Regions from separate parts of the Homo sapiens genome. Here all the other regions are linked to region 2. Evidence: promoter capture Hi-C in 16 types of primary human blood cells and fetal thymus (Javierre and others, 2016). All regions are on one chromosome and are shown on one strand. The core of a region is centred on a gene start or on the middle of the fragment in contact, and the rest is flanking DNA. Distances in the headings are between cores, read along the strand shown. Region 1 overlaps ATG2B (autophagy related 2B). Region 2 holds the start of AK7 (adenylate kinase 7). Region 3 overlaps ATG2B (autophagy related 2B).

Evidence for each region. Contacts are between HindIII fragments. The CHiCAGO score rates a contact against its expected background, and 5 or more counts as called.
Region 1: a contact is called between a fragment that was not itself captured here and the fragment with the promoter of AK7 in region 2, in 1 of 17 cell types (total CD8 T cells). The highest score is 5.3, in total CD8 T cells.
Region 3: a fragment that was not itself captured here is called in contact with the fragment with the promoter of AK7 in region 2 in 1 of 17 cell types (erythroblasts); the score reaches 7.3 in erythroblasts.

The regions. Positions count from the first base shown.
Region 1 is chr14:96,290,000-96,293,304 of GRCh38, forward strand. It overlaps ATG2B (autophagy related 2B), which reads right to left. Exons shown (of 42, transcript NM_018036.7): 37 at 2,030-2,099; 38 at 1,601-1,683; 39 at 815-936; 40 at 437-591. Among named protein-coding and RNA genes, the nearest start is that of BDKRB1-AS1, 23 kb to the left of the region's middle. The HindIII fragment of the contact is 756 bases long and covers 1,576-2,331 here.
Region 2 is chr14:96,389,975-96,393,579 of GRCh38, forward strand. AK7 (adenylate kinase 7) reads left to right here and starts at 2,154. Exons shown (of 18, transcript NM_152327.5): 1 at 2,154-2,285. The coding sequence starts at 2,181. RefSeq lists a silencer at 1,714-2,223. The HindIII fragment of the contact is 12,427 bases long and covers 1-3,605 here.
Region 3 is chr14:96,309,527-96,312,988 of GRCh38, forward strand. It overlaps ATG2B (autophagy related 2B), which reads right to left. Exons shown (of 42, transcript NM_018036.7): 26 at 2,563-2,633; 27 at 2,016-2,092; 28 at 1,591-1,761; 29 at 1-68. Among named protein-coding and RNA genes, the nearest start is that of BDKRB1-AS1, 43 kb to the left of the region's middle. The HindIII fragment of the contact is 1,382 bases long and covers 1,290-2,671 here.

The DNA.
Region 1 (3,305 bases), core at 704-3,203, 100 kb before region 2:
ATAACTAACACCTGGATTGAGCTAAATTTTTAGCCCCTCCTCTGTTCACTGAGAACACTCAACATTTCCACATCAGTCTATGGAGCTTAATACTTACTAGAATGATCTTTAATACTTCTGTTTAATCTACAACGCCTTCTTCAAATTTAGCTACGATCCTTTCATACAAATATGGTGAAATCAATCCTCTGCTAACTTAATGTTTACAATTTACCTGAAATAGGCAAACAAATCTGACACTGTATTCCACTGCTTTATTCTAATTATTTAACACTAAACATTTAAGCAATAAAACAAGCATGACATTAAATCACTACGAATAAAGTATCTACTCACAACATTTTGTATATCTTCACAGTATCGTTTTAAAAACAAAAGGACCCAACCATTTCACAATGGCTCTTTTTGGATAGACTAAGGCAGTCTAAAAAGATACCTGTATGGTTTGAACCATTCTGTTTGTGAGTTCTAGAGCAGCCATCGCTGTCGAGGTACCAAAGGAAGCAGCGCCTCTCTGAAACCCTCTGACAATGCGGCCATCCTTCCGGTACTGCTCTATTGGGAGCCAGACCAAGTCCTTTAGGCCTTGTACTACAACAGTCAACACAAAATCAACATCAGTGCCACAGTTCAGACTTTTCTATCATTCTAACCCTGGGGTTTTTAACTCCTAAAACTGGAGGCAAAGTTTTGTGTATATGAGTACATATGTGAGTTTTCTAGACTAATGGTCCTCACATAAGTTCTCAAAGGGATAAGAATTACTCATCTGAAAAAATAACTTATCTTTTGATTAAAAAAGAAGAAAACTCACCTAATTGTACTAGTGAATGCATAGGTCCAACACCTCCCAGGATTCCTGGTAGCTGGTTCTTCTTAATGTCATTAAGCCACTCAGTGATTGCATATGAGAATAATTTGTCAACGCCTAGTAAACTAGAGCAAATGATTATTAGTATGTCAAAAGGAGAAATACATTTATAGACACAGATTAGTTTGAGGGTTTTTTTTTACTTAAAACAAATTCTACAAATTATAAGGGCAAATATTACAGGTGCTTCAAAAACAGGTAACATTTTTCAAATCAAAAAGAAACACAAATCATCCTTTTAACTCACAACCTGAATTTCTCTAAATATACATATACATACATACACACACACATATATATAAAATCCAATTCTAATGTTAATAATTTCTACAAGACTCAGGTAATACGTATTAGTGTGTTTTTCCAATGTTCTTATTTCTTGAACATCTTAAGGCTTTGGCATAAGATTAACCCAAAGTTTCTAAATTGCCAGTAATTGCTACTAAGAACTTCCAATCTTTTCACTGAATAAGCTAATTTACAACCTTAGAAAATTATTTAAAATATCCTAAACTATAACTGTTTTTTCCAAATACTACTCTTTTCAAACTACTTCTAATCCCTCAGAATAGAAATCAGTGCCTAAATCTTAAGAGTCCTCTAAAAATGAGCTCTCTAAATAAAATACTGTAAAATTGTGTATGCATGCTAAGAAAACTCAGTTTTTAAATTTGTTGTACACTAACTTTGATAACTTCACTTAAAGCTTCATATAATAAATTCACTTACCCATGTCGATAGGAAAGCCTCTTGAGCTTTAGTTCAGAGCAGTTTAACTGAGCCAGACCAATCAAAATCCCAGCTAGCGTACCCTTCAAAATTAAAAAAGGCCAAATTAACCTTACTGTAAATTAAGAGACTCAACATCTAAAATAATTGTTATTTTGAAAGTCAAAGCAGTAGTCATTATTGATACTAAAACACTTAAAATATTTACAGTAAAAATATATATCTTACAATACATATGACCCAATTTATACCAAATTTTACTCATGGTACTTAAGTAAATATTTACATTAAAAACAATTAAATTTAAAAACCTTGCACTTCATTTCAAACATATATATAAACTATGACAAAGCAAAGTTAAAAATAAAAACGAGCTCATTAGAGAAACATATGATAATTTTGTGGAGTATATTTGTAGAGTTTCCCAACCTGATCCATTGATACATGTTTGCCATGATAATCAAGTCGAATGGGAACTTCTGACGTGAATCTAAATTCTCTGAAGATAAAGGAAGGAGGGAGTTATTTACATTTACAATTACTAATAGGTGAAATTAGATATAAATTAATTTGTTCAATTGGAGAATAAAAACAAAACCACAAAATAAATCATATAAATATCTTAAGAACTAAATAAAAGAGAATGTCTTTTAGCTCTATCTTTTCCTAATATAACAATTAAACAGATGTTAATCATCTCATATATTATTATATTTGCATTTCTCACAGAAAGCTTTTCTTAGTTACGTCTATATAGTGTAGGAAAATAAAAATAATACTAACATAAAATGTAATAAAAACCTTTTCTCAGTTTATGAAATAATGTACACTTACAAAAATTTATTCTTATATATATTCACAATTCATTCAAAGAATAAATTAATAAAAGCAACCTTCAAGATTAAACCAGATAGTCATGACCAAGAAATATAAAGAGAAGGCCTAAGGAATTATTTTGACTGTCTGGTAAAACAGAGCCAGCAATCCTGGCATGAACCCCAGGTTCATCTATGACATGCAACTGTGGGCAAGTCACTTGAACTCTCTGCTGCTCAGTCTTCAGAAATTGTTAAAATGCCACCTACATTGTTAAATTTTGTGAGAATCCTTGAAACTAATGATTCTAAGTAAACAGAATTATCGACAAACAAATATAGGGAACGGTGTGAGAATGAAATTATAATTATACAGTTGTCCCTTGGTTTCTGAAGTGGATTGCTTCCAGGGCCTTTATGGATACCAAACCCCTTGATGTTCAAGTCCCTTATATAAAATGGGATAGTATTTGCATATATGCCACACATATCCTTTCATATACTCTAAATCATTTCTAGATTACTTATAGTATTAATACAATGTAAATGCTGTGCAAATCATTTTTGTATTTTTAATTTGTATTATTTTTATTGCCTTTTTTAATTAATATTTTGGTTGAATCTCAGATGTAGAATTCCAGATATAGAGGGCTGGTTGTACACTGATGGTACACATCTAACAAAATGATCTGGCTTCCAAAAGTTGGCTGCAAACAATGTTTGGAACTTGAAACACAGTTTTCCCACAGAATTAATGTTGGTGGTTACATCCTAAGCCATCTCACCAAAGTCCACTGCGCCTACAACAAAATGGAGATGCTATATTTACACCAATCACTACCAGAAGCCTCAGACCCCAGGTCACGCCCATCCCCTGAATACTCAGCTCC
Region 2 (3,605 bases), core at 904-3,403:
GTGAGCCGAGGTCGCGCCACTGCACTCCAGCCTAAAGGATAGAGCAAGACTCCATCTCAAAAAAATAATAAATTTGGTATGAGCAAACTGTTCCCAAATTGAGTTGGCAAAACTTCAAAGCGTTAGTTTATCAAAACAAGTTTTAATGAGAGTTGCATGTATAGAAAAGAAAATGGGGTGGGGACAGAAAAACGAAATATAAAGGCTCCCATCTGTACAAGTGTGCCTTAGCCTTGCAGGAAAAAAAAGCAATAATTTCACCTTTGGCGACCACTTCAGAAAATGCTTCACATATGTCTTATTTAATCCTAACAGCCTTGTTAGGCTGGTGGTATCACTCCTATTTTACAGACAATTTAACAGCATAGGGAAAGTTAAAAGATTGGTCCCAGCCTCCCACAAATCACTGGAGAGCTGAAACTCAAAGCCAAGTCTCATGAGTGCCTGAAAGCCCAGAGCCTCCAAGCTGTCTGAAGATGTTGGGCCACCTCCGTTTTTTGAAACAACCAGTATTTTTTAAAAAGAAGAAGGCCAGGTGGGGTGCCTCACACCTGTAAATCACAGCACTTTGAGAGGCCGAGGCGGGTGGATCACTTGAGGCCAGAAGTTCAAGACCAGCGTGACCAACATGCTGAAAACCTGTCTCTACTAAAAATACAAAAATTAGCCGGGAACGGTGGTAGGCGCCTGTAGTCCCAGCTACTTCGAAGGCTGAGGCAGGAGAATCGCTTGAACCCGGGAGGCGAGGTTGCAGTGAGCTGAGATTATGCCATTGCACTCCAGTCTGGGTGACAGAGCGAGACTCCATCTCAAAAAAATAAATTAAAAATAAAAAGAACAAGAACGCTGGCGTGGTGGCTCATGCCTGTAATACCAGCACTTTGGGAGGACGAGGCAGGAGAGTTTCTTGAGCTCCGGAGTTAGAGACTAGCCTGGGCAACAAACATAGTGAGACCCTGTCTCTATTAAAAATAATAAAAAGAACGAGAAGAAACCACGCACACACAATTGCTGCAAGTGTTAAATATTTGCATTTAAGGAGTTAATGCTTAAGGCATGAAAACAGTTCAATATGATCAGGCTATTCCAAGGGAACTGCGTATTCTTAGTCCACCACAACCTTTATGGTCCAGTGATCACCGAGGTGAATGTTATCTTTTAATTTGTGGATTTATCTCAGCAACTGCATGTATAATCTCTTGTGGAACGGTCAAGTCTAAATTTCTTCCCTTGGTGAATGTGAGCGAATCCCGGGCGCCTACGGGCTCTGGTCGCCCCCAGCCGACACCAGGGGTCTTCCCGGAACGTGCGTCTGGAAACAACCCCCAAGGGAGCTGAGCCGGCGGACCAAGCCGCACCTGCCGCAAGGCGGGACCACGCTAGCGTCGCTCGGGTGTTCGGGAGCCCGAAACTCCATGGCAACAGCTTTTCTTCGCAGCTGAGGCTTACGTCCCGTCGCCCCGGCCAGACCACCCCATGGGAGCGTGCTGAGTAACTCCCACGTGTCGGGGAGAGGCCTAGGCTGTGGGCCATTCCCTCTTCTTCAGAATTCTCATTATTTTTAGTCATCGGGTCAAGCGGACACAGGGATGTGTTTCCAGACTTTCCGAACAATGGAGATTAAAAAGGCACAGCAATCACATGGCCCCCCGGGACAGACGCCCAGGGAGCTTCGGAAAGAAACCATGCACTGCCCAAGGGCTCCCAGTGGGCAGCAAGCCAGGGTGAGACCCGGGCTGCACGCGCGGCGCCGCGGAAAGCACTCGCAGGGACATCCGCCTGGCGCCCAGCAGCCGACAGCGCGCGCAGTTGCGAGCCCTGAGCCCCGCTTCGCCCGGCGCGCCCCGCCCAGCCCACTGCACTACACACCCCGCCCTGCCCGGCATGCCCCGCCCAACCCCCCGGCACGACTCGCCCCGCCCTACCCGGCACGCCCCGCCCAGCGACCGGCACAGCCTGCCCCGTCCCGCCTGGCACGCCCTGATTAGCGCCGGGCACGACACGCACCGCCCCGCCCGGCACTCCCTGCTTCGCCCACGACACGCCCCTCCCCGCCCGGCAAACTGCCCGGAGCCAAGGCCCCGCCCCCAGAGAGAACCTGCCCCGCCTCCCTGGCCCGGGCCCCGCCTCCTTGGCAAGCGAGTGGCGCTTTCACCTTAGCAACCAGCGCGGCTCCCACCATGGCTGAAGAAGAGGAAACTGCTGCTCTCACGGAGAAGGTTATCCGGACCCAGAGGGTGTTTATAAACCTGTTGGATTCCTACAGCAGCGGAAACATCGGGAAGGTGAGCGGCGGCGGCGGCCCAGAGCCTCACGCCAGCTCTCAGCTCCCAGCCCTCGGCCCCCGGTCCGCAAACCCAGCGAGGGTCTGCGCCCCAGGGCGCTGTCGGGGCCTTTCCTCAGGGAGGGTCCCGCGTCCTGGGCACCACCAATGCCCCCTGGACCCCAGTCCGCACCCAGGCTGGTCAAGAGATTCTACATGGAAGCTCAGGTGTCTGGAAATCACTGGTCCATCCCCTGTTCCTCCTTTTAATGAGGGGAAACTGAGGCTAAGAGGCAGGGACTTGCCCAAGATCACATAGAGAGTTGAGGCCAGAACCTGGACAGAGACTCCAGGTCTCTTGCCCCCTCCTAGGTTCTCTTTCTACCCTTCCATCGATTTTGAAGCAGGCAGCTAAACGAGAAAATAAATCAATTTTTTTTTTTTGAGACGGAGCCTTGCTCTGTCGCCCAGGCTGGAGTGCAGTGGCGCGATCTCGGCTCACTGCAAGCTCCGCCTCCCGGGTTCACGCCATTCTCCTGCCTCAGCCTCCGAGTAGCTGGGACTACAGGCGCCCGACACCGCGCCCGGCTAATTTTTTGTATTTTTAGCAGAGACGGGGTTTCACTGTGTTAGCCAGGATGGTCTCGATCGATCTCCTGACCTCGTGACCCACCCGTCTCGGCCTCCCAAATTACAGGCCGAGTAAATCCAAAAGGGATTACAGGCGTGAGTAAATCAAATTTTTATATTGCCCATGAAGCGTTTTTCATTCATCCATCCCTTCAATATATGGTTTTTGAGCATCTATTATGGACCAGACACTGTTTGGGTCCCCGAGTTCCATTAAGTTTCCTCACCTTTCTGTGTCTTTATCCCTGGAAAATGAAGATATTCAGAAAAAGGGCTCTGGGGCCCTTCATGCTAATATGATCAGTTGTCAAAAGAAAGCCATGATTTTATCATTCCCTGTGGGTAGGACCCGTCCATCTGAATTCTGTCCTCTAGAGCTACAGAGAAATCTAATCTCACCCTGGACAGACTTCTCTGAGGCTAATGACTGCACTTTCGAACAGGACAAATCTGCTTAAAATAGGATGAGGCTACAGTACGTACAATCTGTATTAGTTTTCTAGGGCTGTGGTAACCAATTGCCACAAACTGGATGACCTTATAAAACAGAAATTATTCTCTCGCAGTTCTTGAGGGCAGAAGTCCAAGATCAAGGTGTCAGCAGGGTTGGTTTCTACTGGAAGCTCCAGGGGAAGAACTGTTGCTTGCCCCTCTCCTAGCTTCTGGTAGTTGCCAATAATTCTTGGCACCCCTTGGCAGTAGACTCCAATCT
Region 3 (3,462 bases), core at 731-3,230, 81 kb before region 2:
CGTAACATTTGTTGATCTGCTTCAGGAAGTACTGGACCACGTGAGGATGATCGACCACTGGAATCTACCTATAGCCAAAAAACCTAATTAAAAATAACTGAAAATGCTCTTAAAAACCAAACTACTTACATTTATTTTATCCCAAAAATACATTACATTGTACAAAAACATCAGAAATAGAAACCTACTCATTTTTCTATGCCCAGCAGCTGTTATATTTCAAGTTTTTAGTATTATCACCCTAACAAATACTGGCAAAGAGCAATAAATGTGTCACCACCTCAAAGCAAGCACAGTGAACTGGGATCTTGAAGAGGCAATGCATTTGAAAACAGGGAAGTTGAACAAACTGCAATAAAGCTGGGAAAGAAGGGATAACTAAATAAGTTTGATCTCCTCAACTCTGATGGTTGCAATGACTTTCATCCCTTTGACATAAAGCCCCTGTAGGACGAGGCCTCATTTCTTGGACACCTAACAACAGTAGGGGGCACACACAGCAGGGGAAATATACTAAACGGTGATTCAGAGCTCAGTTCCAGCACCAAATACTTAACCAAATACTTCACCAATGGTTGGTGAACTGTAGATTCATTAAACCCAGATCGTGCTTTTTATATGTGAGCATGACTCTAAAATAGCAAGTTCCAAGCTGAAAGGGATAATTTAAAATAAGAAGAATGTTTTTTAAAAGGGAATAAATAGTAGGCGGGGTGTCATAAATCACCTTATCGTGAGAATACAGCAGGAACAAGGAGTCACAAACAGAAATTAACACAAATAAAGTGTAAAATAATCCTGAACAAAAGACAACAAACACGATGCCAGTCAGGCCTTTACTAGAGTACATAACAGAGGCTCTAGAACCTAAGGGGACTGAGATTTCTGTTCATAAGAGAGACCACAAAGAATAACAATGAAAAAGAAAAAATGCTAAACAAACTGGACATTCTTCAATTTGGACATAAGAGAAGTTAGAAAGGTGACACTTGGGGCAGAAAAGTGCATTGAACTGGACACCAAAATATCTGGGTTTGTTGCTGTTTCTGCTACTCTTTAGAGCAATCATCTAAATTCTCTGGGTCTTATTAATTTTTAACCTCTCTATCTCACCAGGTCATCATGAAAGGAAAAGGAAGTCATATATGACAAAGTACACTGAAAACTGGATTGTCTTAGAGATAAAAAAATAGGGAAAATATGATGATATAAGTAAGTCTTCTGGTAACAATACTAACACCTGCCATCTATCTTTTCATAGCATTTTTACATACAACTTGCATAGAACAAGCTTTTGCATGATAAATGTTTTCTTTCTTCCCTTAGGACAGATGAAAATAACAAGTCTAGAAAAAAAAAAGTATGATGTTTGCTAGGAAGATTAATGGAAACAAAGAATATCAAAACAGCAGAATGGTTTTCCAAAAAGGCCCATGAAACCACCGTTTCAGACCCCATTATTCTGAAGGTAAAGAACAGATGAATGACTTTCAAAGTTTCTTTTCTACCTTATGACTGTCATGAAGACCTCAATAATGTAAACATGTCACGACATGGCAGGGACTGGAGGAATCACATTGCTGACTGTACCTTAGACCTTCTTTGAAAGGCTCCAGGCTTCATATCTGCCTTGTTAGGTGTCTGCAAGTCACCATAGCTTGCAATGTACTGAATGAGATTCATTAACGCAGCACAAGAGTCTGAGCACGTTCTGATATGGACAACATCGCTGGAACAGTGTAACTCAAAGCGGGGCTCAGTCTGGACAAGACACAGAAAAAGGGATGAAAATGTTTTCCAAATGAGACAAAAGTTTCTTTTTTTGCATAGATTTACATTAAATAAGATTCATGATAATCTGTCTCGCTACATAAAAAAAGTATTTAAATAAATCCATTTTTAATATACTTACTCTATTTCTGACCAAAATTAGGTACACGGAAAAATGTTAAACTCAATTTTTTTAATCTCTTAAAAAATAGAACTTAAAATTTTCATTTATTTTAATAACTCACTTGCTCTCCATCAGAATCAGACTTCACTGCAGTTATGGTTAACTCCAAAAGCCCCATATCCATCACACGAACATAATCTAAAATTTTTAAAATTAAGAAAATCTCTTCAGTACAGCTTTCAAAAATGTGTATCCAACCAACACCCAATACAACTAGCATTCCTTTAAAATTCATTGCAGAGAGCACTACAAATAATTATAATGCAATGAAAATAGTTTCATCCCATAGAAGTCCTAAAATTCACTTTATTTTTTGTTAGAAACAAAAATTATCTTAAATAAAAATTTGTAGTATATATAGTAATTTGATGTACTTAACTAGCATTATAAGAACATTACAATTTCAAACTGAAAAACCAGTATCTGAAAAATGAAGCTGTGAATATATACCACATGATCACTATATACTTAAAGACCCTTTAATCTTTAAGGATCTTTAATAAGATTCTTAGTTCACTAGCATTATCCCAGAGTTAAAATGCTTTAAAATTATTTACGCACAAAAATAAAGCAGAATTTATCTACTCCATTTGTTTTTTAACTCTTACCTCTACTCAGATTTATAGTGACAGTATTGCATTTGTCAGATAGATGTAAAGCAGCTTCATCCAAGATTATTCTGAGGCAAGAAAGATAAAACCAACATCTGAAAAACTAAGCTTTGAGTATCATACCCCATAATCACTATATGCTTAATTGCATCATTCTTTCTGGTATGAACATTGTTGAAATCATAAGCAGTTTCTAACTTATAACTGTCATCTAACATTTTTTAAAAACTGTTTATGAATGCTAGGAATATTTAAATGGTGTAAAGAATTAGATTAAATCATCTACTCAAATTAATTCTAAATTTTTGGCAGTTTTTAAAGAGATGCCCAAATTCACAAGGTTTAAACTATAGTATAAAGATAGAGTGGGCCAGATGTAGTGGCTCACACCTGTAATCCCAGCCGTTTGGGAGGACAAGGCAGGAGGACCACCTGAGGCCAGGAGTTCTCAACTAGCCTGGGCAACACAGCAAGACCCCTTCTCTACAAAAACAAAACTTTTTTTTTAATCAGCCAGGGATAGAGGCACACGTCTATAGTCCTAGCTACTCAGTAGGGTGAGGGCAAAAGATCACTTGGGCTCAGGAGTTGAAAGCTGTAATAAGCTGTGATCATGCCACTGCATTCCAGCCTGGGCCACACAGAGCAAGACCCTGTCTCTAAAAAATAAAAAAATTAAATAAAAAGTATAAAGTGTATCAGGTAGCATGGGAAGTTTACCATATGTTTTAAAATGCAAACTTTTTAAAGAATCTCCAGAATTAATTTCTTCCCTAAAAATGAAATGCAATAATAAATGGGTAGATGAAACATGTCACCTGAGAAAAATTGGGTAATTTGGGTAAAAGGTTATAACTATTAGTAAAAGAACGTTTAACAAAAAATTGAGACTTTAAT